4 separate regions of the Homo sapiens genome follow, and regions 2, 3 and 4 are each linked to region 1. Evidence: promoter capture Hi-C in human tissues and cell types (Jung and others, 2019). All regions are on one chromosome and are shown on one strand. Each heading gives the region's core, a stretch centred on a gene start or on the middle of the fragment in contact. The rest is flanking DNA. Distances are from core to core; before and after follow the strand shown.

Region 1 (7,420 bases), core at 4,701-7,200:
ACCTCCATTTATTAGGCTATCTCATGCAAACTTAAAATTAAAAAAATAATCCCAGGCCCCAATGTAGATCATGAACCTACTTAAGACTCATTATGGTAAAAACAAATTCTTACATTTTTCTGTCTTTCTAAAAGTGTAGTGGTTATGGCTAAAGACTAATCAACATTACAGATCCAATCTGTTGTCAAAGAACACAATTTCTGACCTGGTAACAAAATTGTTCTGATAATCTGACACATGGCCAAGATTCTCAGACAAGAATTAAAGGCATTCTTTTGGATTCTGTCCTTTAATAACTTTCAGAGGCTTCCAGCTCAGTAAAGACACTGATCAAATCTTGGTAAAAATGGGCTCGTGTGCAGACTTTAGGTGATGTTCTTCAGCAAATTCAACAGGCCAAAGGAGTGTTTGTCACTGACAGAGCTCTCACCACTCACTGGTTCTGTGCCAGTTTTCCATAGCCTCCTCTCCCAGCATCGTAGTCCTGCCGATACTCATCCCGAACCTTTAATGGAAAGAATCCAGAGTTACAGTATGGAAAAGAATGGTGTAACAAATATGCCTCCCACAAACATGTTAGACAAACAGTGAAACCTGTTCAGATGCCACAATGTGAACATTTCAAGCAGGACATATGCACTTCAGCTCACTTCAGTGCGTTTTGCTTTCATTTTAGATGTTCCTGCAGGTGGAAGATACCTAGCCCTAGCAGAAGTTCAAGAATGGTTGCTTGTTAGAAACGTACAGAACATACCATTTCACGGTTTAAAAAAAAAATTCACCCAAACCGTTGGGTGGTTTTCAGATCCACTTCAAGCCAAGGTTATAGACACAAAGTTATTTACAAAAGAGTAAATACAAATTGCCAAAACACCTGTCATTGTGACTGGAATCCCAGGCAATGGCTGAGCCCAGAGACCCTTCTTGCATACCTGGCCCCCAGATCGCCCACGGCCGTATTGCCTGCCCTCCTTAAAGCCTGCGTCCCAGTCTGTGCGAATGATTCGGTCATCCAGACGCGTCCCATTTATGTACCGCATGGCGTTTTCCGCATCTGCGCGTGAGTAATATCTTAAGTATTAAGGAACACTAGCATTTTTCCAAACATTTCTGGAAATAGGGGAACAACATGTAAATGAAGCTGAGTTGTTAAAAAGTACAAGAGCTAATCCAACCAGATGGAGTTCAAAGACAGTAATTCAGCTTGCCCAGGCCTGTTTGCGATTGGTTTGGAAGCACATAGAGTCAAATATGACACGTATCCATGGCTACACTGATCATATTTCTTGGACATTCCTGTTGATAATTTTTGGTCCCATCATCTCTGTATTTTGGTTTGCAAGTTTAGATCACTGTACACTTCTTATCCAAGAAACCAGTGCTGTATATTCAAGTTAGGTTCTGTACATTCCAAGGCACCCTAATCAAGAGAAGGTCACCGTGCACGTGGAATTGTGCTGCACTTCACTAAAGGAAAGACTCAAGCTGTCACCAAGGTAGCAGTTCCCAAACCTACTTCATCAGAGACCTCCCTTTAATTAAAGGGGAAGACATTTAATCTCAGACAAATAAAAATAAGACAACAGTGTTCTGAATAAACCATCTGGAGAAACTAGTATCTTTGATGTTAGCAAGCCAAAATAAAATCTCTTTTCATTCTAGCATTTGGGAAACCTGTGTATCCCCGAGGCAAGCCTGCAATCTGGGAGAGAAGCCCTGCCTGGGTCCAGTGAGTCAGCATTCTTTTCCTTAATTATGAGCAGAAATCCAGGGATCACCAGACACTTAAGGAAAAATTTCAACCGAAACAAACATAATTCAGGGCACAGGAAAAAATTCAAAAGATATATTAAATTGGGCCTGCAAAATTTCTCAGAATATTAAATTGAATGACCAAAACATACAGTAAAAAGAACATAGGATAAATCCAAGAGGTCCAATACTTAAAAGAGTCTGAGTAAGGGAATTAAATGATCAAAGTAAATAGTTTTGGTTTGTACCTATACAGTCAGGTTATATACATCTATATAATGAAATACTATACAGCTATTTACTTAAAAGTTTTTTTCTTTAAAGATGGGGTCTTAACCCGTCACCCCCGCTGGAACACAGTCACAACTCAGTGCAGCCTTGAAATCTTGGGCTCAACTGATCCTCCTGCCTCAGCTTCCTGAGCAGCTGGCACTACAAACACCAGCCACCATGCCCAGCTGTACAGCTATTTTAAAAAAAGACCTACATATGCTGAAATGGAACAATAAAAAATAAAAAAATGATTTTAAAAACAGCACATGAAATACACTACCGCACACCCACAGGGTTACTTCTTGAAAGACGCCCAAGAAACTGGTAACTGACTGCCTCTGGCAAAGGGCATTAGGGGTTTAGAACAGTACGAGATTTTTATATTTTCACTACATTCTTTGGAATTTTTTTTTTTTTACGTGAAGGGCAAACATTCTTGAAAAACTTTTTGTTAAAGAACCATAAAGCATGGATTTCAGAAGAGAATATAAATAGTATCAGCTTTACAGTATAAGGGCAGAGACACACTGGGTGGAAAGTAGGAGGGAGATGAAGGAAAACGTAGGGACGAGTGCAGGGACGCTTATGAGCTACCACTCTCAGCTCTACCCTGGTTCAGCAGCTACATTAGATCCATGGGAAGGATACTCCACAAAACAGAATCCACATGCTGTTTTCTTCATTTTATCCAGACCCATAATGATTTTCTTTATGTCACCACTTTTGCTGAAGAGTTCATAGATTTGTTCTTCAGTTGTGTAAAAAGAAAGATTTCCAACATATAACGTACAGCTTTTCTTCAGTAATTTTTCTTGTTCTTCATTGTCACCCTAGAATTTCAAATAGAGACAAAAGTTAAGCAACTTCAGAGCCTTGCTTAAATAGTATTTCTAAGTACGGTAGAGACATTCATTAATTCTGGTTTGGAAATCAACTTCTCTCATCCCAGCCTACCAGAAATCCCTTGCCCAAAAAGGGGGATGTCGACCTTCTGTGAAGCACTTATGCGAAGTCCAGACTCTTAGTAGAGACAGGGCTCAAAAGTTATACCACATACAACAAAGTCACTTCTACGCCCGACTGCCACGCAAGCGGCTTCCCTTTTCCCTGCACACACCATATCCTCAGCAGTGCATCCTTTAAACCCAAGTGTAGACTCTGGACCTTGACCCAATATATGACAAAGGGCCCTTTTATCCTTCGTAGTGAAAAATAAGTGGGTTTTCAGAGAGAGAGAGAGTTCCTCTTTAATAACCCCCTAGAGACTGTTGAAAGCCACAACCTTGATGCTTTACGTGCTCATAGATCTTTCTCTGAGTTTAGGGGAAAATGTAGTGATCACTAAAAACAAAACAGAGCTCACTTTCTTAATGGGCTTCCAAATTGGGATGACAGGATGAAGCCAGAGACTTAAGCATATAACTGGGCTTCATCCAACACACCTGACAGACAAAGCCCTGGGTCCAAAATGGCTCATCGGGGTCAGGCGCGGTGGCTCATGCCTGTAATCCCAGCACTTTGGGAGGCTGAGGCGAGTGGATCGCCTGAGGTCAAGAGTTTGAGACCAGCCTGGCTAACATAGTGAATGAAACCCTGTCTCTACTAAAAATACAAAAATTAGCTGGGCATGGTAGCAGCGGGCGCCTGTAATCCCAGCTACTCGGGAGGCTGAAGCAGGAGAATCGCTTGAACCTGGGAGGTGGAGGTTGCAGGGAGCTGAGATTGCACCACTGCACTTGAGCCTGGACAACAAGAGTGAAACTCTATCTCAAAAAAAAAAAGTCCACAGGACAATAGTCATTGTATGTTAAAAAGAGGTTTTCGGAACTTTGGAGTGAGACATTAGAGAAAGTAAATTCCTTTCATTTTACTGCTGTTACTGATTTGTGAACATGGAAAGGAGGCATCTTCTTTTTCTACTTTTCTCACACATGTAAGTAAGATCCAAATAAATAGCCTACAGTTTAAGATAACTGTGGTGTAAGTGCTTAAAGTATATTAATATGGATTCCATTCACAGAATGCTAGAAATTCCACATGACAGTATGGCATTAGCATCTAAAAAAAGCTACAGGTTTAGACTGAGGAGATGAATAATAGACAAAGTCAGAAGGTTCCAGTTTTCATCTCACAGGATGCTTTAAGTTCAAAATGGTCAGGATGTGGAACTGTCTAAAGTAGTAACTAAAAGTGGTAGAAGTGCAAATCATGCCTGGCACTTAGGCATCCCAGCACTTTGGGAAGCCCCAGGCAGGTGGATCGCTTGAGTCCCAGAGTTCGAGACTGGCCTGAGCAACACAGGGAGACCCTGTCTCTACAAAAAATTAGCTGGATGTGGTGGCGCGAGCCTGTGGTCCCAGCTTCTCAGGAGGCTGAGGTGGGTAGGATCACTTAGGCTCAGGAGGTTGAGGCTGCGTGAGCCGTGATTGCGCCACTGCACTTCAGCCTAGGCAATAAAGCGAGACTCTGTCTCAAAAAATAAAATACATTAACTGAATAAATTTTTTTTTTTTGAGAAGGAATATCGCTCTGTTGCCCAGGCTGGAGTGCAGTGGCGCGATCTCACAGCAACCTCCACCTCCCCGGTTCAAGCGATTCTCCTGCCTCAGCCTCCCGAATAGCTGGGATTACAAGCGCCTGCCACCACGCCCGCCTAATTTTTGTATTTTTAGTAAGACGGGGTTTCACCATCTTGGCCAGGCTAGTCTTGAACTCCTAACCTCGTGATCCACCCGCCTCAGCCTCCCAAAGTGCTGGGATTACAGGCGTGAGCCACCGTTCCCAGCCTTGACTAAATAAATCTAAGAGCTTCCCTAATTTAGCGTCAAACAAAATTTCCCTTTCCCTACTCTAGTAACACATTTCACACATTCTCCACACTTACCCTCTGCTATATGCGCCCCTTCCTTTCCCAGTCACAAGGGGATTTTTCCCTTTTCTGAATCCTCACTACAGGGGATTATGAGCTCGCAGAGCGCAGAAACTGTCTTCCCTCTCCCTCTAGGGTTTAGCACAAGGATTTGGCGACAGCACTCGATAAACGTTTACTAAATAATTGGGTTAATGAGTCCCGCCCCGCCAACCCCCAACCGTATTCCATCCCTACCTCCGCTGATACTGAAAAGTCTACTTTGAATATCTGCTGCCTCCCCTTTTTCCACAAAATATACTGTGATATAGTCCGGACTAAAAATTTCCCTCTTCTGAAATCCAGCAATTCTCCGATCTTTACATCCGAACACCCTCAAAGTGCCGAGCTTGGCGGGTCCACCTCCCCACTCCGAAGCTTCCCCGAGGGCGGAGTGAGGACTCCACTTGTGTCTCCCACGCACCGCGTACAGCTTCCGTAACACCATCCTCCCAGAGAAGGGGCCCGAATCGCCGAAGGGCACTGCTTCGCCGATTTAAAAAACAAAGCAAAAAGCCCCGCATCTGCATCAGGAAGGCGCCTCTGCCTACTCTGGGAGAGAGAAGGGCACCCCTCCCCCTTGCTACGTAGTCGTCTGCGGAGGCACAACCGTGGAAACGGGAGCCGCCACCACCACCACCGCTCAAACCTCTCGGCACTGGCTGGGGTACAGGGAGCGGCTGCGAGCGAATGGGATAAGCGAGCCTCCAGTTCCCCGTCTTCCAGAGCAAGTGGCTTCAGTGATATCCAAGCGCCCTTCCAGCACCCATTCCCTGCCTCGCCAGCAGGCACCGGGGCCCCACTTGGCGTTTGCGGATTTCAGCTGAATGGGAGGCGACACAATGAGACAAGAGCAAACCGTTTCTCAGCGTTCTTGCCCAGGGCCTTCCCGTCTCGCGGCCCGGCCTCCCTCACCCGGAAGTGCTGGTCCCGGTACTGGCTCAGCTCCACGTAGGAGTCGCTGCGCAGCGCCTTCAGGAGGCCACCCGACATAGTGCAGAGAAGCGGACCACAATGCGGCGACTCCCGGCACGAGGCTGCGTCCGCGATGGCGGAAGCGGAAACGCGCGGAGGCGAGCATCTCATTGGACCCAATCCGAGGGCGGCGTGTCGTCATCAAGCTGCGCGGGGGCATAGACGTCCGGGTCGGGCGCCGCGGGGCGGAAGACGAGGGCGGCGAGGTCGGGTTCCGGGCGCTTGGAGAAGATGGTGCTGCGGCGGCTGCTGGCCGCCCTGCTGCACAGCCCGCAGCTGGTGGAACGTCTGTCAGAGTCGCGGCCTATCCGACGTGCGGCGCAGCTCACGGCCTTCGCACTGCTGCAGGCCCAGCTGCGGGGCCAGGACGCGGCCCGCCGCCTGCAGGACCTCGCGGCTGGGCCCGTGGGCTCCCTGTGCCGCCGCGCTGAGCGATTTAGAGACGCCTTCACCCAGGAGCTACGCCGCGGCCTCCGAGGCCGCTCGGGGCCACCACCAGGTAGCCAGAGGGGCCCTGGCGCAAACATTTAATCCTGGGCTGTGCGGGGCCGAGGCCGCTTGCTTTTCCTTCCGGGCTCTACAGTGGCATCAATGTGGAGGGGTCATTCCGGGCACTGCGCGCGGCTTCGAATCCCGACTGGGATTGTTGGCCTGCAGACATCCCACGCATAAGAGCCTAGGCCAGACCGCCCGCTCCGTTGAAGTCTTGTGATTGGACAAGACACAGTGTGGAGACAGCCCTAAGCCTAACAGAGATGAAGGTAGGCTGGGTCCAGACACGGCACCTACGGAGAGCCACGGACCGAAGCCAGAGAGCCTTTCCTCTGCAAGTGGGACTGAAACTCTTGACAGATGCTGCTCAATCTGACTGGTATAGCAGGACAGTTAATTCCAGGGACGATATGGATGAAAAGACAACCCTACAGCTGCCAAATTCCTTTGATTAAATGTGTGAGCTGGTTGATAGGCATGAGTGTGATACTTCTCAGGCAAGATGTGTTAAGAATACCGGGGACTGTAGGCCTATGGTAATAATAAACACGTATTTTATGAAATGAGTCTTCTGTGCTGGGACTTGCTCATTGCACTCTATGTGTTATCTCACTCCTTACAACGACATTCACATGAGGAAGCAGATTACTTTTTGGATTTTTTTGTAGAGATGGGGTGGTCTCGAACTCTTGGGCGCAAGTGATCCTCCCGCCTCAGCCTCCCAAAGTGCTGGGATTATAGGCAAGAGCCACTGCGATGGAAACAGAGGCTGCTGCTTAAGTTGCCCAAAGTCTTGCAGAGTGGGATGTGAGCAGAGGCATTTGACTCCAGGGCCTAAGTCCTTAACACAGCTCTGCAGCATTTACCCTGATACTCAACCCCTTCCTTCCCCAACCCCCCACCATCAGGCATTAAGACTACTGCCTAGGGGCAGGGCCTGGTGGCAGTTGTGTCTTATCCCAGCCACTGCAGAGGCAGGAGGATCGCATGAGCCTGAGATGAGACCAGCCTGGGTAGCAT
Region 2 (7,420 bases), core at 4,921-7,420, 760 kb after region 1:
AGATGCTCCCAAGTCTTCCCAGGTAACTGGGAATTAGAGGTTGGAAGAAGATGTCCACCTTCTAAAAGAATTTCTTGCACTTTGGGAGGGCAAGGCAGGCGGATCACAAGGTCAGGAGTTTGAGACCAGCCTGGCCAACATGGTGAAACCCCATCTCTACTAAAAATACAAAAATTAGCTGGGCATGGTGGCACATGCCTGTAATCCCAGCTACTCAGGAGGCTGAGGCAGGAGAATCATCTGAACCTGGGAGGCGGAGGTTGCAGTGAGCCAAGATCGCACCACTGCACTCCAGCCTGGGCAACAAGAGCAAAACTCTGTCTCAAAAAAAAAAAAACAAAACAAAAAAGAATTTCTTGGACTCTTAGAATCCCAGAGCACTAAGCCTCTTGGTTGGAAAACGGTAGAATAAACAGAGAGAATCCTTCTGCCATCTAAAATTAAAGAGAACATGCTCTCCCTCGTACCATACAGTAAAGAAAAAACAAAATAAAAATGTAGAACTTTGGGCTGGGAGGCAGAAAAGGACACAAATGGCTTCCTCCTCTGCATGATTTCCACATAGAGTCTGTCTGCTGGTTACTAAGCCCAGATACTCCAAGGCCTCTTTTCAAGGTCCATCTCATCCACTCAGAGAGCCATCCCATCTGGACCAGCCGACGTACCCGGTGCGAACACCCAGCACGTAAGAGAGGGTGGGACCCCCAAGTCAGAGAGAAGCAAGAGAAATGGCAGAGCAGTGTGATTTCTAGCACGGGGGTTAAAAATGACAAAAGAGTGACTGAGACTGTAACAGTGTGTACCCTCCAGAGAGCTGAGATGAACCCCAAAACTCAGAACTTAGCAGGCACAAGGGGTGAGCAGAGAAAATATACAATTTTAGCCCTGGCCTTCCTAGTACTCACCATATTCCATGTACAGAGAGCTGGGTGTGCTGACTTCACTGCTTTGACCAGAGTAGGGCAAAGGGCCTCTCAACTTCGCCTTATCATTGCAGGATTCTAATGACGATGACCACCAGCGAGTAAAAACACATACGAAATGAGCAACAGGTACATTCCCAACTCTGGAGTTTCAACACTTAACTGCACCCCTTCCCAAAGCCCTCCCAAGCAGGAGAGAGGCGGCACACCAACGGAACAGCCCAAGGGTACAGAAACACAGGGAGGGAAGGAGATGGCAGGTCAGTACATTCTAAGTGGAAAAGAAGAAACGTGATCCAGAATGGGGCAACATAAAGGAAAGAATCAAATCAAAATGGATTCATGGAATTTGCTTCTCTTTCCTTACATCTTTTAACCAAACATTACAGGAATATCAGCTGATTCCTATCCTCTTGACAAACCAATTTAGAAAAGTCTTTAGATGGTAAAACAAAGACAAGTGCATTGAAACTTTTCTGACATCTTGACATTAGGTTTTAAAGTAACATCAGAAGATTTACATTCACTAAGGAAATAAAATTCAGCAGCATCCTAAAAAGAAGCATCAAGGCAGTGCTGGAGAAGCCCAGGGAGAGGGCCCTGTAAGCAAAGGGCTCCGTTACGGGGCTCGGCCCGGCCTTACTGAAGAAGGGAGGGAGGGAAGGCTGGCGAGACAGACAATGCCTGGGACAGGAAGAGCGAGAGCTGGGAGGGAGAACAGTAGCAGGCAGGGTTTGCAGGAATGAGAAACTGATATTCTTCACAAGGAAACACAACATTTCCAGGACCACAGAAGGAAGAACAGGTGGAAAAGCAGGTGGGTGCTTGAAAATGAGCAGGATGCTGTGGGAGAGTGAATGACTGAGCTGCATCTAACCCATTTCCCTGACAGATGTTACCAACTTGCTCCTCTCACAAAAAATGCTACTCTGTGCAAGAGACAATTTTGTGTTCTTCTTGGGCCTCAAAGACTTCTGGTAGCCCTGGCTGTGGGCTCTGTTCCTTCCTACTGAACTGAGGACAAACTAGTAGTCGCCACGATGCCTTGGTAAAAAACCATGATATGACTTGGAAGGGACCTTCAAGATTCCCAAACAGCACACAACACAAACTCCAACACGACCTTAACCTCTTTACAACATGTGGCCATTCAGCCTTTACTTACTGAGTTCACTACCTCCTAATGCCACCATTTAACTAATTCTTAGAATTCCCTTACACTCGTTATCTGCCTTCTTCCAATTTCTTATCTCCTTAAGAAGAACGCTATTCTAAATGATGGTCCTACAGACTTTATTCCTCTTTAACCATCTGTTTTCCAAGCTAACATACCCAATGGCCTCACCCACTTCCAGGAGGCCACGGCTTTCAGCCCTCTCTCAATACTCTGCCTTGCAGACACATTCCAGTGTTCATGTCCATGAATTATGGTACCCAGGATGGAACACAAATCTCAGTTTGAACACCACCATGAACACCAAGGAAACAGACTGAAATAACTAGAAGAATCCTATGCAATAGCTGGAATGGGGTGCAGGGATTTATAGGGAAATGAAAACAGGTGAAAGAAAAAGGAAACGGAACTGCAGGAGAGGGAAAAAAAACAAAAAAACAAAAAACAAAAAAACCAAACATGCAAGTATATCTAAGACCACAGAAAGGGGATAAAATACATTCTGGTGTTAATTCAAGGAAAATAAAGTAATCCATAGGAAGTATTCAGTTATAAGAAAAATTCTGGGCCAGGTGTGGTGGATCACGCCTGTAATCCCAGCACTCGGGAGGCCAAGACAGGAGGATCACTTGAAGCCAGGAGTTCAAGACCAACCTGGGCAATGCGGTGAAACCCTGTCTCTACAAAAAAAAAAAAAAAAAAAAAGTAAAAAAAATTTAAAAAAAGAAAAAAAAGTCTGCTACTGATTCATCATGATGCCTCAGACAAATAGCAGGCCTCAGTTTCACCTTTGGGCAAAACTGAATTGATAAGTCTTGACTCTGCCTCCCAGAAGCTGTTGAGAGACTGAACGAGGCATTTGGAATTGTGTATAGAAAACACATCATATGAAATACTGGTATCATTTTATAGACAGTTCCAAGCATCACAACAAGACCAGGCTAGCCAGACTTGATTTGACACCAGACTGAAGGAGGTTCTGAACTAAGAAAGGTGGTCACAAAACAGAACAAAGAGGAGGTGGAGGACCGATTCCCAAACCTGCAATGGGATCTTCAACTATAATGGTGATATTCCTGGGGCCTCCTGCCGGTAGACAGACAGGTGCAGAGGAGAGTCCAGATAGAGCAATGAGAATACAGAGAGAGAAAAAAAGTGTCCTAAATTTTACCCAGCAGAAGTGGGGATGGAACTCCCAAGAGGAAACCCCAGTTGTGAAGGACGGATGGCTTGTCCAAGAAGCTGTGCGTGACCCATATTTCCTCAGATCCTTCCGCACACATTTTCGCGGGCTCCCTTTTTCCAAGGCAGGATTCCACTGGAATCCATATGGATTCAAGAATGGGGCGGGAAAGTTTTACATGCTCAAAGGCCAGTGGCTTGGAGTATGGCAGACATCAGGCCTGCAGCAGGAGATGTGAAGTGAGGGTCCAGCCCAGTCATCTTCACATCTAAGAAAGCTCATGGGAAGACAGGCTTTGATTTGGAGATTCTTCTCCTCAAGATTTCCAACAAGTTAAATCACATTCTTGAGGGAAAACAAAGACAAAAGTTTGTAATTCTGAAGGTTTCAGATGAGGGCCTTAGCTCTCACCTTTCCAGAAATTACAAAGAGAAAGCAACGCTATCTCCAGTTGCTAAAGAAACCGCCCCCTCTTTTTTTTAGGTCCTTGAATTTTTCACATTTTATTTTTATATTTTATTTCTGGGGCTTTCCTGACCCAGAATGGCTTTGAGCACAAAGCTCCATGCTATACTTCCTCTTATGGAGATCCTACTACAAACAAAACCCAACCAAAGCCTGCCGGATACCACAAGCCGGGAAGGATGATGGCAGGGAGATGGCAAAAGCAAGGAGCCCCACCTTCCCCACGAGTAGGCTGCCCCTGCTATCAGCTGGTGTTTGGTGAGGGAGGTCCCAGCTGCCAGGGCCTCCTTATCTGACGGCCTCTCACCCTGAATCAGTGATGCGGCCGTCAGCCCCACCGACTCAGTTGCTGGATCGCATCACCCTGCACTCACTATAGCCTTCGTTTTAATTAGAAACCCCAGTATCTCTCTGCCTCTCTCACATTGGTATTATTACACCCTGGGCAAACTTCTAAGACGTCACAGGAAATGACAGAACTTAATGGGATTATTTTTAAAGCTCAATAATACTTTCCCCAATCCAAGAGATACTTTGAAAACTCGCACTATGAGTCACGCTATCCTCTGATGTTACCAAACTAGTAAAGAATCCAGGAAAACATTTAATATTAGCAATGTATAAAGAAACAAACATAAATAGACTTAGAGATTTTGAGTCTCAGTATTTCGTTATAAACTTCTTTCATTACAAAATAAGATGTTGTATCACCAGAAACAGAACATCTCTTTCTGCCACCTGAAAAGTCCCCATAACAAGCCCTCTCTTACTCTCAATTCAGGGTCATCTTGCTAACTAGCAGCCGGTGTTCCTCATTACCTGGAGCTCCCCTGGAGGCAATGCTGGTATCCGAATGGGAGCGAATGTGGCTTTTCTTTGCCCCACTGGTGACAGTGAGTGTCTGCCCCTCTGAGAAGCTGGACCTGCGGAGGACACTGGACAGCTGGCTCTCCCCACCTCCTTCCTGGTCCCCTAAGGAAGAGGCAGCAGAATCTGGCTTCTGGGAGCTGCTGGAGGAGAACAAATTGGAACTGCTGCTCTCGGCATTGCTGCTGTGACTCTGACAGCTGGCAGTCCGGCCTCGGGGGTCCAAGTTGCCAATGGCCAGGTACTCAGGCCCCTCACTGGCATCACCTGGGGAATCATTCTGGCTGCTGACCCAGGATGCCTCTATGGGGCTGGTCAGAGTACTGGAGCTCATTTCATTTGGGGTCAAAGGGGAATCCCTGGCTAGTGCAGAGACTGAAACTGGGGGGGCTTGGATGGTTTGATCCTCTGCTGGTGAGACGTGCCCTCTGCTTTCTTGAGGTTTCCGGGGAGGGCCAGAGAGTGGAAAGGAAGTAGATCTTCTCTCTAGAATATAAAAGGAAATGGTAAGGGGAGCAAGGGTGAGGTGGAATCCTGCAGTATGTATGAAGGACTGGGTGACCAGGACATACGATGTCACCTCAGAAACGGCAAGCCAAATAAAGTACAAAATTATTTAGAAGCAGCTAAGTCAAGAGTATGGGCTCCTGAGACAGTGCTTTATTGCTTATTAGTATGCATTCCTCATCTGAAAAATGAGCAGTAAGAGGACTGTTTGAAGGCTCAAATGGGATAACACATACAAACTGAACACAACAGAGCCTAGTACATGATTGGCAATCATTCGGTGTTAGCTAGTATTGAAATGCCTTCTTGGCAATGTGGATTAGAAACCCAGGGGAATCTACAAACATCTCTCTCTTCTGTTACTTCATGATTCTACTGAATTATTTCAAGCTAGTCACTATATAACTTGTAAAGATGTCCCTTATTAAGAAAAACTACCAACCCAAGTCTCAATTTTCCAAGCCTATGAGCAACCACAAAGTCTTCTTACTTTCCAGGGCTGGGGATAAATGTAATGACCACTTTTTCCTGTCCCCATACCTGAGCCATTGTTGGGCACGGATTGGTGGAGGCTAGAGAAGGACCCAAAGTAGGAATGCTGAGCATAGCTGTTTGGAGGGGTGTATGTGGAACTGGGCAGGGCTGTCAGGCTCTGGCTCTTTGTCACCAGGAGCGGGCTCTCGTGCTTTCTGGCAAACTAAAAAGCAAAACAAAACCAAAAAATGTGTCAGAGTTAAGGACAAAGGGCCTCAGAGTGGGGGCAACGCAGTACTGCAGAAATGCCATAGAAGCTACCTTTGCAGTAGGCCTGGACTTTAGCCAGAGCCTGTAGATACAGCAAGGCTACCTTCTACTACAGTATGTAATTTACAACTGTGAAACCACAGCATCTGCACTGGAATCCTTCCAGGTGTTAAACCAGGAGTACTTTATTACAGAGGCAGCACAACAAAGTGCTGATGTATGTGGAATCAGAAGTCAGACAGACTAGGGTTCAAATCCAGGCCCTGACACTTATCAGCTATTTGATCCAAACTTTGGACCACGTATCTACTCTGTGCCTCAGCAGCCTCCTTTATAAAATGAGATCAATGCCCACTTCACAGGGTTATGAAGAGTCAATGACATGATACATTTATCATACATAGCACCGTGCCTGGCACATACAAAGTATTAAATGGATAGTAACCAACAATCAAAATTAAACGAATCAGGCCGGGCACAGTGCCTCACACCTGTAATCCCAGCACTTTGGGAGGCCAAGGCGGGCAAATCACTTGAGGTCAGGAGATCGAGACCAGCCTGGCCAACATGGTGAAACCCCGTCTCTACTAAAAATACAAAAATTAGCTGGGCGTGGTGGCGTGCACCTGTAATCCCAGCTACTCGGGAGGCTGAGACAGGAGAATCACTTGAACCCGGGAGGCGGAGGCTGCAGTGAGCCAAGATCATGCCACTGCATTCCAGCCCAGCCTGGACAACAAAGTAAAGACTCTGTCTCAAAATAATAATAATGATAATAATTAATTAAAAGAATCTGGAGAGATAGGGGATCTGCTTCTCTAAGAAGTGGGGACTCTGATTCCATTCTAGCTAAGGCACTGACTGGAGTATTAGTGATGGGATAAGTTAATTTTAGGCAACAAATTTTCTTTGTACTATAAAATTTTCTTTACATCAAAGAAAAAAACATGAAAAAACTGACCCCGTGTAACATTAAGCTATGCCAGGTCTGACACTAAACTCTATCCGATTCAAAACCATCCCTCTTTTCCCCAGATCTTTGTCAAGGCTTGGTATCCTTTGTCAAAAGATACCACAGGTTTAACAAAATCTACCTCCCCACTCCCCAGCTTAGGTCTACTAAGCACACGACCTAAGCCTAGACTTTCTACTTCAATAGGTACTTAACAGTACCTCCCCTCCTCCAAGCATTTTAAATGAAAGCTGGCCGGGCGCGGTGGCTCAGGCCTCTAATCCCAGCACTTTGGGAGGCCGAGGCGGGAGGATCACGAGGTCAGGAGATCGAGACCGTCCTGGCCAACATGGTGAAACTCTGTCTCTGCTAAAAATACAAAAAAATAGCTGGGTGTGGTGGCGGGCGCCTGTAATCCCAGCTACTCGGGAGGCTGAGGCACAAGAATCGCCTGAACCCAGGAGATAGAGGTTGCAGTGAGCTGAGATTGCACCACTGCACTCCAGCCTGGGAAACAGAGCGAGACTCTGTCTCAAAAAAAAAAAAAAAAAAAAAAAAAAAAAAAAAAATGCAAGCCTTTCAGCTCACAAAAATGGCTAAGTGAA
Region 3 (7,420 bases), core at 2,203-4,702, 650 kb before region 1:
GACTCCGTCTCAAAACAAACAAACAAGATGCATTTTTTTTTTTTTTTTTGAGACAGAGTCTCGCTCTGTCTCCAGGCTGGAGTACAGTGGCACAATCTCGCCTCACTGCAACCTCTGCCTCCCAGGTTCAAGCAATTCTCCTGCCTCAGCCTCCCGAGTAGCTGGGATTACAGGCACCCAACACCACACCTGGCTAATTTTTGTATTTTTAGTAGAGACGGGGTTTCAGCATGTTGGCCAGGATGGTCTCAATCTCTTGACCTCATGATCCGCCCGCCTCGGCCTCCCAGAGTGCTGGGATTACAGGCATGAGCCACCGTGCCTGGCAAAAAAAACCATCTTCTTAGCTTGACTATTCCCCCAAAGATAGCTGATAAATTAAGATTTACATAGTACTTCCCACTGTCCAGCCCCTGATCCCTAGGGTAGTTAAGCATAAAATAAAACTTTGGTGGGGCTGGGCGCAGTGGCTCACGCCTATAATCCCAGAACTCTGGGAGGCCGAGGCGGGCCGATCACCTGAGGTCGGGAGCTCCAGACCAACCTAACCGACATGGAGAAACCCTGTCTCTACTAAAATTACAAAATTAGCCAGGTGTGGTGGTGCATGCCTGTAATCCCAGCTACTCGGAAGGCTGAGGCAGGACACTTCAACCCGGGAGGTGGAGGTTGTGGTGAGCTGAGATTGTGCCATTGCACTCCATCCTGGGCAACAAGAGCAAAATTCTGTCTCAAAAAATAATAAAAATAAAAATAAAACCTTGGTGAGACCATAGAATTTTAGAGCTAAAAGCTACCTTAAAATCATCTACATAAGCAGTGTCCATATCTGGCAGTCAGCAGAATCATGGGGAACTTTTTAAATATTCTGATTCACTGATCTAACCCCTGGCCTATTTGATCAGAATCTATTTGAATAGGGACCCAGCGTCTATATTTTAAACAACTTCCCAGATGATCCTTAGGCAGTCACAGCCAGTCTTTGGGAAAATGTACTTCAGCTTCCTAATGTCACTGATACAATGTGAGAAAAATCCAATGACTTACCTGAAGTCATTCAATTAGAAAGTGACAGAACTGGAGATGGAATCCCCCTCTTATTTCTTTTTACTTTTTTCTTTTTTCTTTTTTTAATTTTTGAGACAGAGTCTTGCTCTGCTGCCCAGGCTGGAATGCAGTGGTGCGATCTCAGCTCACTGGAACCTCCGCCACCAGGTTCAAGCAATTCTCCTGCCTCAGCCTCCCAAGTAGCTGGGATTACAGGCGTGCACCACCACACCCGGCTAATTTTTTGTGTGTGTGTTTTTAGCAGAGAAGAGGTTTCACAATGTTGGCCAGGCTGCTCTCAAACTCTTGACCTCAAGTGATCCACATGCCTCGGCCTCCCAAAGTGCTGAGATTACAAGCGTGAGCCACCCCACCTGGCCTCACTCTCTTAATTTACTCAATCTAGTTTCTGTTCTACTCTAACTCTGACTCTATGTATTCACAACCTGGGAGTAGACGAATAGAGGATGCAATCCTTTCTGGAGTAAATATAAAATAATAACTTCAATGAAACCTCTTTTATGTGTGTGTGTGTGTCACCCAGGCTGGAATACAGTGGCACAATCTCAGCTCACTGCAACCTCTGCCTCCGGGGTTCAAGCGATTCTCCTGCCTCAGCCTCCTGAGTAGCTGGGATTACAGGTGCCCGCCACCATGCTCGGCTAATTTTTATATTTTTAGTAGAGACAGGCTTTCACCATGTTGGCCAGGCTGGTCTTGAACTCCTGACCTCAGGTGATCCGCCCTCCTTGGCCTCCCAAAGTGCTGGGATTATAGGCATGAGCCACCGCGCCTGGCCTGAAACATCTTTTTAAAGATTCCTCTTTATTTTTGCTTAATTTTAATAAATGGCTTTAAGATAAAGTAATAAATTTTACTACTAAAAAAAAATGACCTTTGCTCATGGAATCCCTGCCATCCACATTTGTTTGCAACTTAGCAAAGTGTGATTGGTTCAAATGAACAAATAAGTGATTTTAAAATTTTAGTTATAAATTATTACTTTAATAAGGATTATCAGGATTGAGTTTTAGAACACTGATTTATGGAGGAAGTGGCTAAAAATAATGTTTAAATAATATGCTAACTAAATAATATGCTATTCAGAAATTCAAACCCATGAAAAATTATGTCATATGTAAACATGTAAGTTTCCTTGCCTATAAGCAGCACTCTAGGTTTCTGCTTTAGTAACACAAAAACTAACAGTAAAATCATTTCATTCACAAGTCAAAGATGAATGACTAAGACAGCAGTGTCTTTCCATCCCAATCAACAGTAAATAGTTTGATTTGCGGTGCCCACGTTCTTAGAAAGGGAAAAGAGGTTTCCAAATACACTTACATTCATGAAAACATCATGAGTATAGTTGTCAGTGTCAGCATCCCAGAAACAGCGAGAAGCCATGCTAAAAAATCCAAGAATGAAGAATTATCAACAATCTAACAAGGACCTAAACGACACATATCTGCCACGAGAAACAGTGTTCCTTAATACATTCTCATAGATCTGTACTTCCAAACCTTTCACAGGTAGGTACCCACAGAGTATTGTATTTGTACCAGAGAGTATACTGGGTAAACCGGAGAAACTAGAGTCAGATGAAGCTGCTTGCAACTAGAGGTGACCAGCCAGGTACTCTGACAGCCTCAGACCCTACCTGATGGCTACAGGGATCAATACTAGAGATTTGTGTGTGACTTTTAATGAGCTCAGCTCCTGCACAATAACAGGACGAGGAAGGCACAGAAAGAGCCCAACAGATTTAGTCCAACCTGATCATTTTATAGAGTCCCAGAAAAAGGAGCAAACTCTGAACTAGAATTCAGTCTTCTAACGAATTATAACTCCAAAAATATCTCTACAGAATGCTAAACTACCTTGAAATTGGCTATTCTCCTCTCTGCAATTCTTGGATAAGAAAAAAATATTAGTCAAAATAAAAGCCAATTAAAAATGGAAACAACTTAAATGCCCAATAGGACTGGATTGGTAAATGAAATTATGGTATTTCTCAGGATCTGGGAGAATTTTTTAAAAAAAGAAAAAAGAAATAATGATGTTTTCTGGCAATGAAATTCTATGTAGACCTTAAAGAAAAGTTTTGCAAGACACAGTGACGTGTCCCTGTAGTCCCAGCAACTCAGGAGGCTGAGACAGGGAGTATCATTTGAGCCCAGGAGTTCAGGGATGTAGTATGTGAAGATCACACCTGTGAACAGCCACTGCACTTCAGCCTGGGAGACACAGCAGGACCCTGGCTCTTAAAAAAAAAACAATTCTGCACTTTGGGAGGCCAAGGCGGGCAGATCACGAGGTCGGGGGATCGAGACCATCCTGGCTAACACGGTGAAACCCCATCTCTACTAAAAATACAAAAAATTAGCCAGGCGTGGCGGCAGGCACCAGTAGTCCCAGCTACTCAGGAGGCTGGTGTGAACCTGGGAGGCGGAGCTTGCAGTGACCTGAGATAGCACCACTGCACTCCAGCCTGGGAGACACAGCAGGACCCTGGCTCTTAAAAAAAAAATTCCAAGAACATGAAAAGCTATTCACAATATAATGTTGAGTGAAAAAAATAGGCTGGGCATGGTGGCTCACACCTGTAATCCCAGCACTTTGGGAGGCTGAGGTGGGCGAATCACCTGAGGTCAGGAGTTCGAGACCAGCCTGCCCAACATGGTGAAACCCCATCTCTACTAAAAATACAAAAATTGGCTGGGCATCGTGGCACACGCCTGTAATCCCAGCTACTCGGGAGGCTGAGGCAGGAGAATCACTTGAACCCAGGAGGTGGAGGCTGCAGTGAGCCAAGATTGTGCCACTGCACTCCAGCCTTGGCGACAGAGTGAGACTCTGTCTCAAAAACTAATAATAAATAATAATAATAAGTGAAAAAAAAATTACAAATGTTTTACATTTCTATTAAACGTATGTGTATGATTTATCATGCAAACACTTATTGAGCACTTACTTTGTGCCATTCACTAGTCTAAGTGTTTTACGTGTATTAACTCACTGAATCCTATGAGGTACTATAATTTTACCCATTTAGTGAATGTGACAAATGAGGATTAGAGAAATTAAGTGTACAAGGTCATACAACTAGGTAACAAAGCTTGGCTTTGCACCCAGGCAGTTCACAACCCATACCCACAGAGAAACATACACATATACCTTATATTATATTGGTTCTTTTTTTTCCTGAAACAAAAGGTCTCACATATTTATTACTGAACCCAGCCTACTATCGCAGGGCATATAAGCAAAGAGAAAAAATATATTCCCAATAAAACACGTCCAACTGTTCAGACAGTGGTGACGTTTTCAGCTTGCTATAGTAAGATGGCCGTGACCTTGATACAGCGTGAATATGTGTGCCAGCTCACGTGCAGTTCCTTATAGACCCAGCTTGGCTGTTCTGCAATGTCTCCTTTCCAGTTGTGCCTGATTTTATTACCAGTTTTCAACCAGATCCACTGGAGAATGGGACGATTTGGCTTTTGTTTCTTGGCCAGGAATCGCTTACTCTTAAAAGACTTGTGAGAAGACATGACAAGAAGCAGAATCAAGCACACACCACAAGAGAGAGTTGTTTGTTTTTTGAGACAAAAATATAAAATAGTGAGACCCCAATTGTTTTATTTATTTATATTTTATTTTTATTTTTTGAGAGGGAGTCTCACTCTGTCAACCAGGCTAGAGTGCAGTGGCACAATCTCAGCTCACTACAACCTCCACCTCCCGGGTTCAATGATTCTCCTGCCTCAGCCTTCCGAGTAGCTGGGACTACACACGTGCATTACCACGCCTGGCTAATTTTTATATTTTTTGTAGAGACAGGGTTTCACCATGTGGGCCAGGCTGGTCTCAAACTCCTGAGCTCAAGCAATCGGCCCACCTCAGCCTCCCAAAGTGCTGGGATTACAGGTGTGACTTGGAAAAAGTGTAATGGTACAGTTTGTAGCAGGCTAATAATGCTCCCACCAAGAACAGTAAGAAAAGCTGGATAAAATGAATCAGGGAGCTGCCAAAGCAAACAGGCCTAGAGGAGCCAAAATTCCAGAAAGAGGTGAACTCTAGGAGGTAAGCTGATATTCCGCAGCAGATTTTTTTCCTGGAGGATTTGCCAATTCAGGGCACAGGGCTAGATGCTGAGAATCTGGGCCTTGCTCAGGTAAAGAACAAATTACTGAGGGAAAATTTAACTAGTAGGAGAGTTGGCAGTCTTTACTTTTTAAAATTTTTTTATTTATTAATTTTACTTTGAGACAGAGTCTTGCTCTGTCACCCAGGCTGGAGTGCAGTGGCACGATCTCAGCTCACTGCAACCTCTGCCTCCCCAGGCCAAGCACTTCTCATGTCTCAGCCTCCCGAGTAGCTGGGATAACAGGCATGCACCACCATGCCTGGCTAATTTTTTTTTTTCTTTTTTTTTTTTGAGATGGAGTTTCACTCTGTTGCCCAGGCTGGAGTGCAGTGGCACAATCTTGGCTCACTGCAACCACAACCTCCCGGGTTGAAGCAATTATCCTACCTCAGCCTCCCAAGTAGCTGGGACTACAGGCACCCACCACCACGCCCGGCTAATTTTTGTATTTTTAGTAGAGACGGGGTTTCACCATGTTGGGCAGGCTGGTCTCGAATTCTTGACCTCAAGTGATCCACCGGCCTCGGCCTCCCAAAGTGCTGGGATTACAGGCATGAGCCACTGTGCTTGGCCCTAATTTTTTGTATTTTTGGTAGAGACGGGGTTTCACCATATTGCCCAGGTTGGTCTCCAACTCCTGAGCTCAGGCAATCTGCCCGCCTTGGCCTTCGAAAGTGGTAGGATTACAGGAGTGAGCCACTGTGCCCAGCAGAGTCGGCAGTCTTAACAAAGCTAAGGAGGTAAAATCAGATTCTGGAGGGAAGATCCCATAAAAAAGGAGAAAGTAGAACTGAGCGTATCACATGGTAGGTTTTCTTTTCAAGACATGCTGAATTCAGGCCGGGCACAGTGGCTCGCGCCTGTAATCCCAGCACTTTGGGAGGCTGAGGCAGGCGGATCACGAGGTCAGGAGATCGAGACCATCCTGGCTAACGTGGTGAAACCCCGTCTCTACTAAAAATACAAAAAATTAGCCGGGTGTGGTGGCGGGCGCCTGTAGTCCCAGCTACTCGGGAGGCTGAGGCAGGAGAATGGCGTGAACCCAGGAGGCGGAGCTTGCAGTGAGCCGAGATGGCACCACTGCACTCCAGCCTGGGCAACAGAGTGAGACTCTTTCTCAAAAATAGAATAAAATAAAATAAAGTAACTAGTATGACTAAATCACAAGGGTCCTTACAAAAGAAAGAGGGAGTAGGTGGGTCAGAGTCAGAGAGTTGAAGATGCTGTGCTGCTGGCTTTGAAATTGGAGGAAACGGCTTATGGGCTAAGGAGTTCAGGGGCCTCTAACTGGAACAGACGAGGAAATGGATTCAGTCTTAGAGCCTCCAGAAGGAATGCAGCCCTGCTGACATCTTCATTTTAGTTCAATGAAACCCATTTTGGATTTCTGATCTCCAGAACTGTAAAGTAATATATTTGTGCCATTTTCAGCACTGAGTTTGTGATAATTTGTTACGGCAGCAACAGGAAACTAGTACACTAAGGAAAAAGCCTCTGACATGAAGAGCAAAGTTTTATGCTGAGGAGACAAGATCTGAAAGTCAGCACCTGTTGGAGGTAGAGGCCTGCAGAGGCCTAATGAACATTCGAGGTTCTTGGTTGAAAGACTTGGAGGGCTACAATTAAGAAACAAGGGGGCCAGGCACAGTGGCTCACGCCCATAATCCCAGCAGTTTGGGAGGCCAAAGTGGGTGGATCACCTGAGGTCAGGAGTTTGAGACCAGCCTGGCCAACATGGTGAAACCCCATCTCTACTGAAATACAGAAATTAGCCGGGCGTGGTGGCGTGCGTCTCTAATCCCGGTTACTCAGGAGGCTGAGGCAGGAGAATCACTTGAACCCGGGAGGCTGAGGTTGTGGTGAGCCAAGATCATGCCATTGCACTCCAGCCTGGGCAACAAGAATGAAACTCTGTCTCCAAAAAAAAAAAAAAAAAAAAAATAGAAACAAGGGTGAGGCTGGGTGTGGTGGCTCACACCTATAATCCTAGCACTTGGGCACTTGGGGAGGCCAAGGCAGGAGAATCACTTGAGCCAAGGACTTCAAGACCAGCCTGGGCAACATGGTGAAACCCCATCTCAACAAAAACATACAAAAATTAGTTGGGCGTGGTGGCTCATGCCTACGGTCCCAGCTACTTGGGAGGCTGAAGCAGGAGGATCACTTGAGCCCAGGAGCCAGAGGTTGCAGTGAGCTGAGATCGCACCACTGCACTCCAGCCTG
Region 4 (7,420 bases), core at 292-2,791, 600 kb after region 1:
CCCAGGCTAGAGTGCAGTGGCGCGATCTTGGCTCGCTGCAACCTGGGTTCAAGCAATTCTCCTGCTTCAGCTTCCCAAGTGGCTGGGATTACAGGCACCCACCACCACGCCTGGCTAAGTTTTGTATTTTCAGTAGAGACAGGGTTTTGCCATGTTGGCCAGGCTGGTCTCGAACTCCTGACCTCAGGTGTTCCGCCCACCTCAGCCTCCCAAAGTGCTGGGATTACAGGTGTGAGCCACCACGCCCAGACTATAGTTTATAGTTTAAAACAAAGATGGCAGCCCTTTCCCAAAACAAACCTCCTTCTTGCCTGGGGATCAGACTGTCTTTGTAGGACTAACAAATTAGGCACCAGATTACAAATTATAAACCATAATTTATAGCCATGCAGCTAGAGGCTACAAGATTCTGACCCTCCCTACACTGCTCCTAAGATCAGCGCTTGGGATACTTTGCAGACCCTGCACTGGATGGATCAGCTGGCACCACCCAGGTGGACAAACTGGCTCATCTGCTCTTGTGGCCCCGACCCAGGAACTGACTCAGCGCAAGAAGACAGCTTCAATTTCCCATGATTTCCTCTCCGGCCCAACCAATCAACACTCTGTCACTGGCCTTCCCCCACCCACCAAATTATCCTTAAAAACTCTTGATTCCTGAATGTTTGGAGAGACTGATTTGAGTAATAATAAAACTCTGGTCTCTTGCACAGCCGGCTCTGCGTGAATTACTCTTTGTCTACTGCAAGTCCTCTGTCTTGATAAACCGGTTCTGTCTAGGCAGTGAGCAAGGTGAAGCCATTGGGCAGTTACATCCCTAGTGGAACTAGATGATTTGTTCCTGTCTCCTTAAGGGCCACACCCTTAGCACTTTTTTTTTTAGACAGCGTCTCTCTCTTTCACCCAGACTGGAGTGCTGTGGCACAACCTTGGCTCACTGCAACCTCCGCCTCCCGGGTTCAAGCAATTCTCGTGCCTCTGGCTCCCAAGTAGCTGGGATTATTATAGGCATGTTCCACCACGCCCTGCTAAATTTTGTGTTTTTGGTAGAGATGAGGTTTCACCATGTTGGCCAGGCTGGTCTCGAACTCCTGGCCTCAAGTGATCCACCTGCCTCTGCCTCCCAAAGTGCTGGGATTACAGGTGTGAACCACCATGCCCAGCCTACCTGACATTTTTAAAAGTAACAAAAAGGTTGTGGCCGGGAGCGGTGGCTCACACCTGTAATCCCAGCACTTTGGGAGGCTGAGGCGGGCAGACACTTGAGGCCAGGAGTTCGAGACCAGCCTGGCCAACATGGTGAAACCCCATCTCTACTAAAAATACAAAAATTAGCAGGGCGTGGTGGCACACGCCTATAATCCCAGCTACTCAGGAGGCTGAGGCAGGAGAATCATTTGAGCCCGGGAAGCAGAAGTTGCAGTGAGCCAAGATTGTGCCACTGTACTCCAGCCTGGGCGAGAGTGAGACCTGTCTTAAAACAAAAACAAAACAAAACAAGTAACAAAAAGGTCTAGGCAAGAGAGCTTATTTCAGATTGACTTGCTGCCCGTCTTTCTCTAAACTGTCTCTCCATTGTCAAATATATTCAGACCTAAAATTAACTGAGTCTGGGTGTATTATACCAGGCTCTACCACTTATACCCAACAGTCAATGGCGCATTTCTACTCTTCCAGAGAGCAGAAGGTTCTATCTCGACTCACCTGCCCCCCCCACAGCAATACCCTGACAAGGTGGGTAAGGTGGGGCTGTGAATACTCCTGGGCGGGCAGCTCCAGCTAGCATGACAGTGCCTCCTGAGCACTGCTGGACTTCTCGGCCTTTCCTTCTTGGCCACTGCTGGGATTGCCTCATCCTACTCTAATTCCTCTTCCCTCAATTTGCAGCTCTTACAGTCGCTGTGGGATCCCCATCTTAGGGCTGCTTCTCAATTTGAAGGGGCCTTGGGACCAGGAAGACCTTACTGCCTCAGCTCTCAAAAGTTAGTTAACAAGCACTTGGGGAGCTTGTTAAAATGCAAACTCCCAGGTCCCTCCCGTTGACATTCTGATTCAGTAGGAAGGGGTGGCCCCAGAAATCTGCCTGTGTCATTCACCTCAGGGGATTCCAGTGCAACAGGTCCTGGGGGAAGAACTGGTTCATCTAGTCCACAGCAGTTGTTCTCTGGGCCCCTGTTTATTAGAATCACTTGGAAATGTGATCATGGTCGTGTGGTTATATTACTAAAACGAGTTCTTATCATTTAGAGATAAATATTAAAATATTTGCAAATGAAATACCATGTCCAGGAATTGCTTCGAAAATTAATCTGGTATGGGGAGGGGGAGGAAAATGGAGATGTAGCTGAAACAAGATTGGCCATGTGCTGATAATTATGGAAACCCAGGTGACAGGTACACCAGGGATCAATATACAGCTTTCTACTTTTGCGTATGTTTGAGATTCTCCATAGAATGATTTTTTTTTTCTTTTTAATCACAGGGAAGTTCTTTAAAGTATTCCTTTGCCTAGCCTCACTCCTGACCCAGAGGTGAGGCACAGACACTTTTTCCCTCACTGTTCTCTAGGTGATTCTAACCCACAACCAAGGTTCAATACCACTGCCCTACAGGAAAAGAAAAACAAAGACCTATCCCCAGGGGGTTCCCCTTTGAGCCCCTTGAATGCCAAAGCCCCAATATCCCTGTGAACAGCTGGAGGCCACAGCCCAGCTGAGCTGTGACAGACACTGCTCTTTGCCTGCCAGCATCCGTTCTTCTCATCTGCCTCACTAACAAGAATCTGGATTTTGTCCAGGGACAGCAGTGCGCCCAACGCTTTCCAGATTACCACCCACCTAGTGGTCACGTGACCTGCCTCTGGCCAATAGGCTGCAAGCGGAGGTCGACCACAATTGCTGAGTTTTGCTTTCCCGATGCAGGTGCGTTGCTTGTCCCTGCCTGGACTGAGGCTGGAGGTGAAGGACTATCACAGTATCCTGGGATCCTGAGCTGCCTTCAGAATAACACAGCAGAAAAAAACAAGGAGCCTGGGCTCCCCAAAGCCACAATGGCCCTAGACTTCTAGGGGTTCCTGCTATTCTTAGTGTGAGGCAATCCCAGCTCATACACTGGTCTCCCAGGGCTAAGAATGCCCATGAGGCGTTAGGCCCAAAACCAGCACATAAAATAGTGTGTATTTCCCTGGAGGGTCTCCTCTGCCCAGGAGGGTCCTGCAGTAACAGCAAGCTGCTGGCCAACCAAGCCACTAACACCAACAGCTATGCCGGTCTCAGTCTCTCGGGAGGCACAAGTTAAGCTCGAGATGGTCAACACGCTTTCTTTCTTGCTTGCTTTTTTTTTTTTTTTTTTTGAGACGGAGTTTTGCTCTTGTCGCCCAGGCTGGAGTGCAATGGCACGATCTCGGCTCACCGCAACCTCTTCCTCCCGGGTTCAAGCGATTCTCCCGCCTCAGCCTCCCAAGTAGCTAGGATTACAGGCACACGCCACAGGCCCGGCTAATTTTGTATTTTTATTAGAGACGGGGCTTCTCCATGTTGGACAGGTTGGTCTCAAACTCCCGACCTCAGGTGATCCGCCCGCCTCAGCCTCCCAAAGTGCTGGGATTACACGTGTGAGCCACCGCGCCCCCACCGGTCAACACACTTTCTGAAGGGAGAGCCCAAAGGGGTGGCTGTGAGGTTCAGAAGACGAGAGCTTCCTGATTTTTGCCCTAACCCAGGAACAGAATGAGAGGGAGGAAGTGGTGCAGTCTGGCACCTCCCCAAGGCCCTGTGGAAGAGCCTGCTGTCCTCAGCGCCCTGGTCATCCCGGCCGCATTTGAGAGCGCTCCCTATGCTGGCCAGGGCGTTCATTCTGGCTTCTTCTCTATCTTACCAGTCTGTGTGTCTGTGCCTTTTATTGTCCCCATCAGGAATCAGAAACAATAACCAGTAACCCAGCTTTCTGCTGAGAGGAGCCATGAGTCCATTTGAATCTAACAAGACGGGGCTTAGGAGGAACACATATCAGTGGCACAGGTGCAGCTCGGGAGAAATATGGCCTCACGGCAGCATCTGTGAAAAAAATTTAGCCTGTTTGACCATGAATCCCGCATGTGATGTGGCAGCCAAAAGAAGCTATGTGAGCCTAGGCTGGACAGGAAAGAAACTAGGATAGGGGAGGCAAGAGCCCTTCTCCACTCTGCCCGGGTCAGGCCACCCTGGGAGCACTATGTGCTGTACCTGGCCTGGCAGAGCTGAGCACTGGTGATCACAGCCCAGGAGGCAGGGTCCCAGATGTGAGCAAGGCACCTGCCCCAGGGATGCCAGAGTCTTCTGGCAAAGCCAGAAATCTGAGAAATCTGAAATCGGAGGGCCATGGGGAGCCAGTAAGCACAGCAGGTTGTCAAGTGTTGGGGTTGGGGGCCTTATCCAGCCACTCCTGGGAAGGTTTTCATCTGGACGGAGCCATGTGTACTGGGTGATGCCTGCTCTGGGCATGTCAAGAGTGGTGGGTGTTTTGTTCAGGCACCACACCTTAAGAAGGAGCACAGGCAAAGTGCAGACCATTCAGCGGGGAGACCTGGATGATAGTGGGGAAACCATGAGAGATAAACAAGGAGAAACCATGTGGGTGGAGTAAGAGTAGACAAGTGGGTGGGTATTGAGGTGGCACAGTGCCCCTGGGGAGAAGGGAATAACTCGCTCAGTGTGAATGCAGGGGCAGACCCAAGAACAAGGAGTGGCATTAACAGGAGAAAAGATTTCTCCTCAATAAGGAGATGTCCAAACACAGGAGGCCTGCTATGAGAGGTACTAACCTCTCCATCACTGGACATATTCAAACAGAGGCGATAAAGTCACTTGGTAAGGATGCTATCAGCAAGATTCACTCACAGGTGCAGACTGGAGTATGAGGCCCTTTCCAACTGAGACTCAAGCAAAATGATCAGGCCAAAGTTTTCCCTCTGAGGGACTGTGGGATCCTAGGCATGGCGATTACCCACCATGCCAGCCTCCTTCTGTACCTGGGTCCCCCTCCACGCTGCCCATACCTTCACCCTACGACATTGACTCTACTCTGACAGCTCTGCGGCTGCCCAACCACCACCCAGGCCCCTCAACCTAACCAAGTTACTTCTCAGTCCATCCAGAAGATTCCAAATTCCCTTTGACAATCTTTCTTTCCCCTCAAGTGAGCCAGGAGCTTGACTAATGCCTCATTTTCCTTACATTTAAGAACAAAACCTTTGTAAAAGTATTTTAACTTCATGTGGGATTATCTTCTCCTCTATAAAAAAACTCCAGAAATCTCTAAAAGCCATGTTGGAGACAGATCTTGCCATCTTTATGAATCACTCACTGAAAAAACAATTGCAGCAAGTCACCTTCTTTCAAAAGCCCTTCAACAAAGCCGAGCTCCGTCCCCGCTCTGATGGCAGGGGCCTCCGCCGTCCCCGCTGTGATGGCAGGGGCCTCCTGCCGCCTGTGCCAATGGGGCATTCTAAACTCTTCTCATGTGGGGTCCTCAGGTAGGTGGAGCCCCAGCTCCAAGCCATGCCTCTGTATCTCTCAGAAATAAATTCAAGCAAATGCTGCTAAAAGCCGGGCCGGGCGTGGTGAATCCCAGCACTTTGGGAGGCCGAGGCAGGCGGATCAGTTGAAGTCAGGAGTTCAAGACCAGCCTGGCCAACATGGCAAAACCCCATCTCTACTAAAAATACAAAAAATTAGCCGGGTGTGGTGGCACATGCCTGTAGTCCCAGCTACTTGGGAGGCTGAGGCGGGAGAATTGCTTGAACCCGGGAGGCAGAGGTTGCTCTGAGCCAAGAGGTTGCCACATTGCCTGGGCAACAGAGTCTCAGTCTAAATGCATGTTCCATTAAACATATTATTGGCATAGAAATATCAGTGTTCTAGATCCTGGGACTTTGAATTTAACATAATCTTCAATTTCACTCCCCTCAAATTCACTCCCCTCAAATATAACAGAAAGAAAAAGGTATTTCTTGTTTTTTCCTTGCTCAGACTGCAAAAGAGTAAAATGTGGCAGCAGAGCCCACTGAATCCCCTGGGAAAAGGCAATTCCAGAAGCTCTCAAAGAAGAACAGCTGCTTGTCTAATTTGTACTTATATAATGCTTCCTCGAAATCACACAAACGATGCGGTGAAGGTTTGGGACATCTCGGCTAACTGATTTCATGCATAAAGTTTTAAAAGAGCAGTTATCAAAATAATGTACCTCCTGGCACGACGGGCTGAGAAAAGCACCGCTTCACTGCCGCAGGCGTCTTGCCACACAAACCCAAACTGAGAGACATTGTACAACATAACCAGCGAGAGTGTCAAGGTCGTGAGCGAAAAAGACTGAAGACCTGTCCCCGGCAGGAAGAAACTAAAAACACATGACACCTCCGAGCCATGTGGGATTTGGGATTCGATCCTGGACCAGAAAAAGGTCCATCAGCAGCCACTTGGCAACACTGGAATAAGGTCTGTAGACTAGTTAATAGTATTCTATCAATGGTAATTTCCTGATTTTGATCATTGCAGTATGGTTTTGTAAGATGTTAACATTTAGGGAAGTTAGCTGAAGGGGATCCAGAAACCCTTTCCAACGATTTTTGCAACTTTTGTATAAGTCCAAAGTTATTTCAAAATAAAAAGGGTTTTAAGAAGTGGTTATGGCCAGGCACAGTGGCTCATGCCTGTAAACCTAGCACTTTGGGAGGCCAAGGCGGGTGGATCACCTGAGGTCAGGAGTTCAAGACCAGCCTGGCCAACCTGGTGAAACCCCGTCTCTACTAAAAATATAAAAATTAGCTGGGCATGGTGGCAGGTGCCTGTAATCCCAGCTACTCAGGAGGCTGACGTGGGAGAATCACTTGAACCCAGGAGGCGGAGGTGGCAGTGAGCCGAGATCACGCCACTGCACTCCAGCCTGGCAACAGAGTGAGACTCCATCAAAAAGAAAAAAAAATAAGTGGTTATGAAAGATATTCCTTTCTGCCCTGTGTGCCCTGGGAAAATGTCTTCCCAGGACACCTCTGAGTTTCCTCTGCTGGGAGACAAAGGTATTGAGAGACATCTCTGAGAATCAGGCCTCATCACCGCCTACACTGTCCATGTGTGAAAACCTCTGCCTGCTCAGAAAGTGTCCCCTCAAGGCCACCACCACCTCTGGTTGCTTACCTTGCTCCATTTTCTCTATCACAGGCACTTAGGGTTTTTCCTGGGAGCCGTGACAGGGGTCTGGAGAGGCGGGTGGCCAGCATGGTAGCAACGGGTGTTAGAATGGCCCAGTTCCTCCCGGTGGTTCTGAAACATAAATGCACCCTCAGCATTACTTTGTTGCCTTCCGGGCTTTAATCAGGAGCAGTCATGTTCCTTTCAGGTTGTGAAAGTCAAACTGGGCTGCATCTGTTCCACCCAGCTCCAGT

What was found. The method cuts DNA at HindIII sites, captures the fragments that hold promoters and counts their contacts. A contact is called where the count stands out against the background at its distance.
Region 2: a contact is called between a fragment that was not itself captured here and the fragment with the promoter of NCBP2 in region 1, in 1 of the 25 tissues and cell types used here (aorta).
Region 3: a contact is called between a fragment that was not itself captured here and the fragment with the promoter of NCBP2 in region 1, in 1 of the 25 tissues and cell types used here (hippocampus).
Region 4: a fragment that was not itself captured here is called in contact with the fragment with the promoter of NCBP2 in region 1 in 1 of the 25 tissues and cell types used here (dorsolateral prefrontal cortex).

The regions. Positions count from the first base shown.
Region 1 is chr3:196,936,578-196,943,997 of GRCh38, forward strand. It overlaps NCBP2 (nuclear cap binding protein subunit 2), which reads right to left and starts at 5,951. Exons shown (of 4, transcript NM_007362.5): 1 at 5,849-5,951; 2 at 2,674-2,855; 3 at 933-1,071; 4 at 1-505. The coding sequence starts at 5,926. The coding sequence ends at 434. NCBP2AS2 (NCBP2 antisense 2 (head to head)) reads left to right here and starts at 6,097. Exons shown (of 1, transcript NM_001355243.2): 1 at 6,097-6,966. The coding sequence starts at 6,140. The coding sequence ends at 6,439. It overlaps NCBP2-AS1 (NCBP2 antisense RNA 1), which reads left to right and starts at 3,300. Exons shown (of 3, transcript NR_046630.1): 1 at 3,300-3,550; 2 at 4,397-4,565; 3 at 5,816-5,957. RefSeq lists enhancers at 5,283-5,956, 5,415-5,654, 5,685-5,824, 5,875-6,174, 5,957-6,630 and 2 more. The HindIII fragment of the contact is 10,051 bases long and covers 1-7,420 here.
Region 2 is chr3:197,696,049-197,703,468 of GRCh38, forward strand. It overlaps RUBCN (rubicon autophagy regulator), which reads right to left. Exons shown (of 20, transcript NM_014687.4): 6 at 5,660-5,816; 7 at 4,565-5,098; 8 at 906-1,001. Among named protein-coding and RNA genes, the nearest start is that of MIR922, 25 kb to the left of the region's middle. The HindIII fragment of the contact is 4,690 bases long and covers 3,826-7,420 here.
Region 3 is chr3:196,293,615-196,301,034 of GRCh38, forward strand. It overlaps DYNLT2B (dynein light chain Tctex-type 2B), which reads right to left. Exons shown (of 5, transcript NM_152773.5): 4 at 2,392-2,455. Among named protein-coding and RNA genes, the nearest start is that of PCYT1A, 9.6 kb to the left of the region's middle. The HindIII fragment of the contact is 5,937 bases long and covers 485-6,421 here.
Region 4 is chr3:197,539,189-197,546,608 of GRCh38, forward strand. BDH1 (3-hydroxybutyrate dehydrogenase 1) reads right to left here. Exons shown (of 8, transcript NM_203314.3): 3 at 7,173-7,298. The coding sequence starts at 7,255. Among named protein-coding and RNA genes, the nearest start is that of BDH1, 13 kb to the right of the region's middle. RefSeq lists enhancers at 2,388-2,983, 2,690-2,984, 2,984-3,577 and a silencer at 2,590-2,884. The HindIII fragment of the contact is 8,756 bases long and covers 1-5,919 here.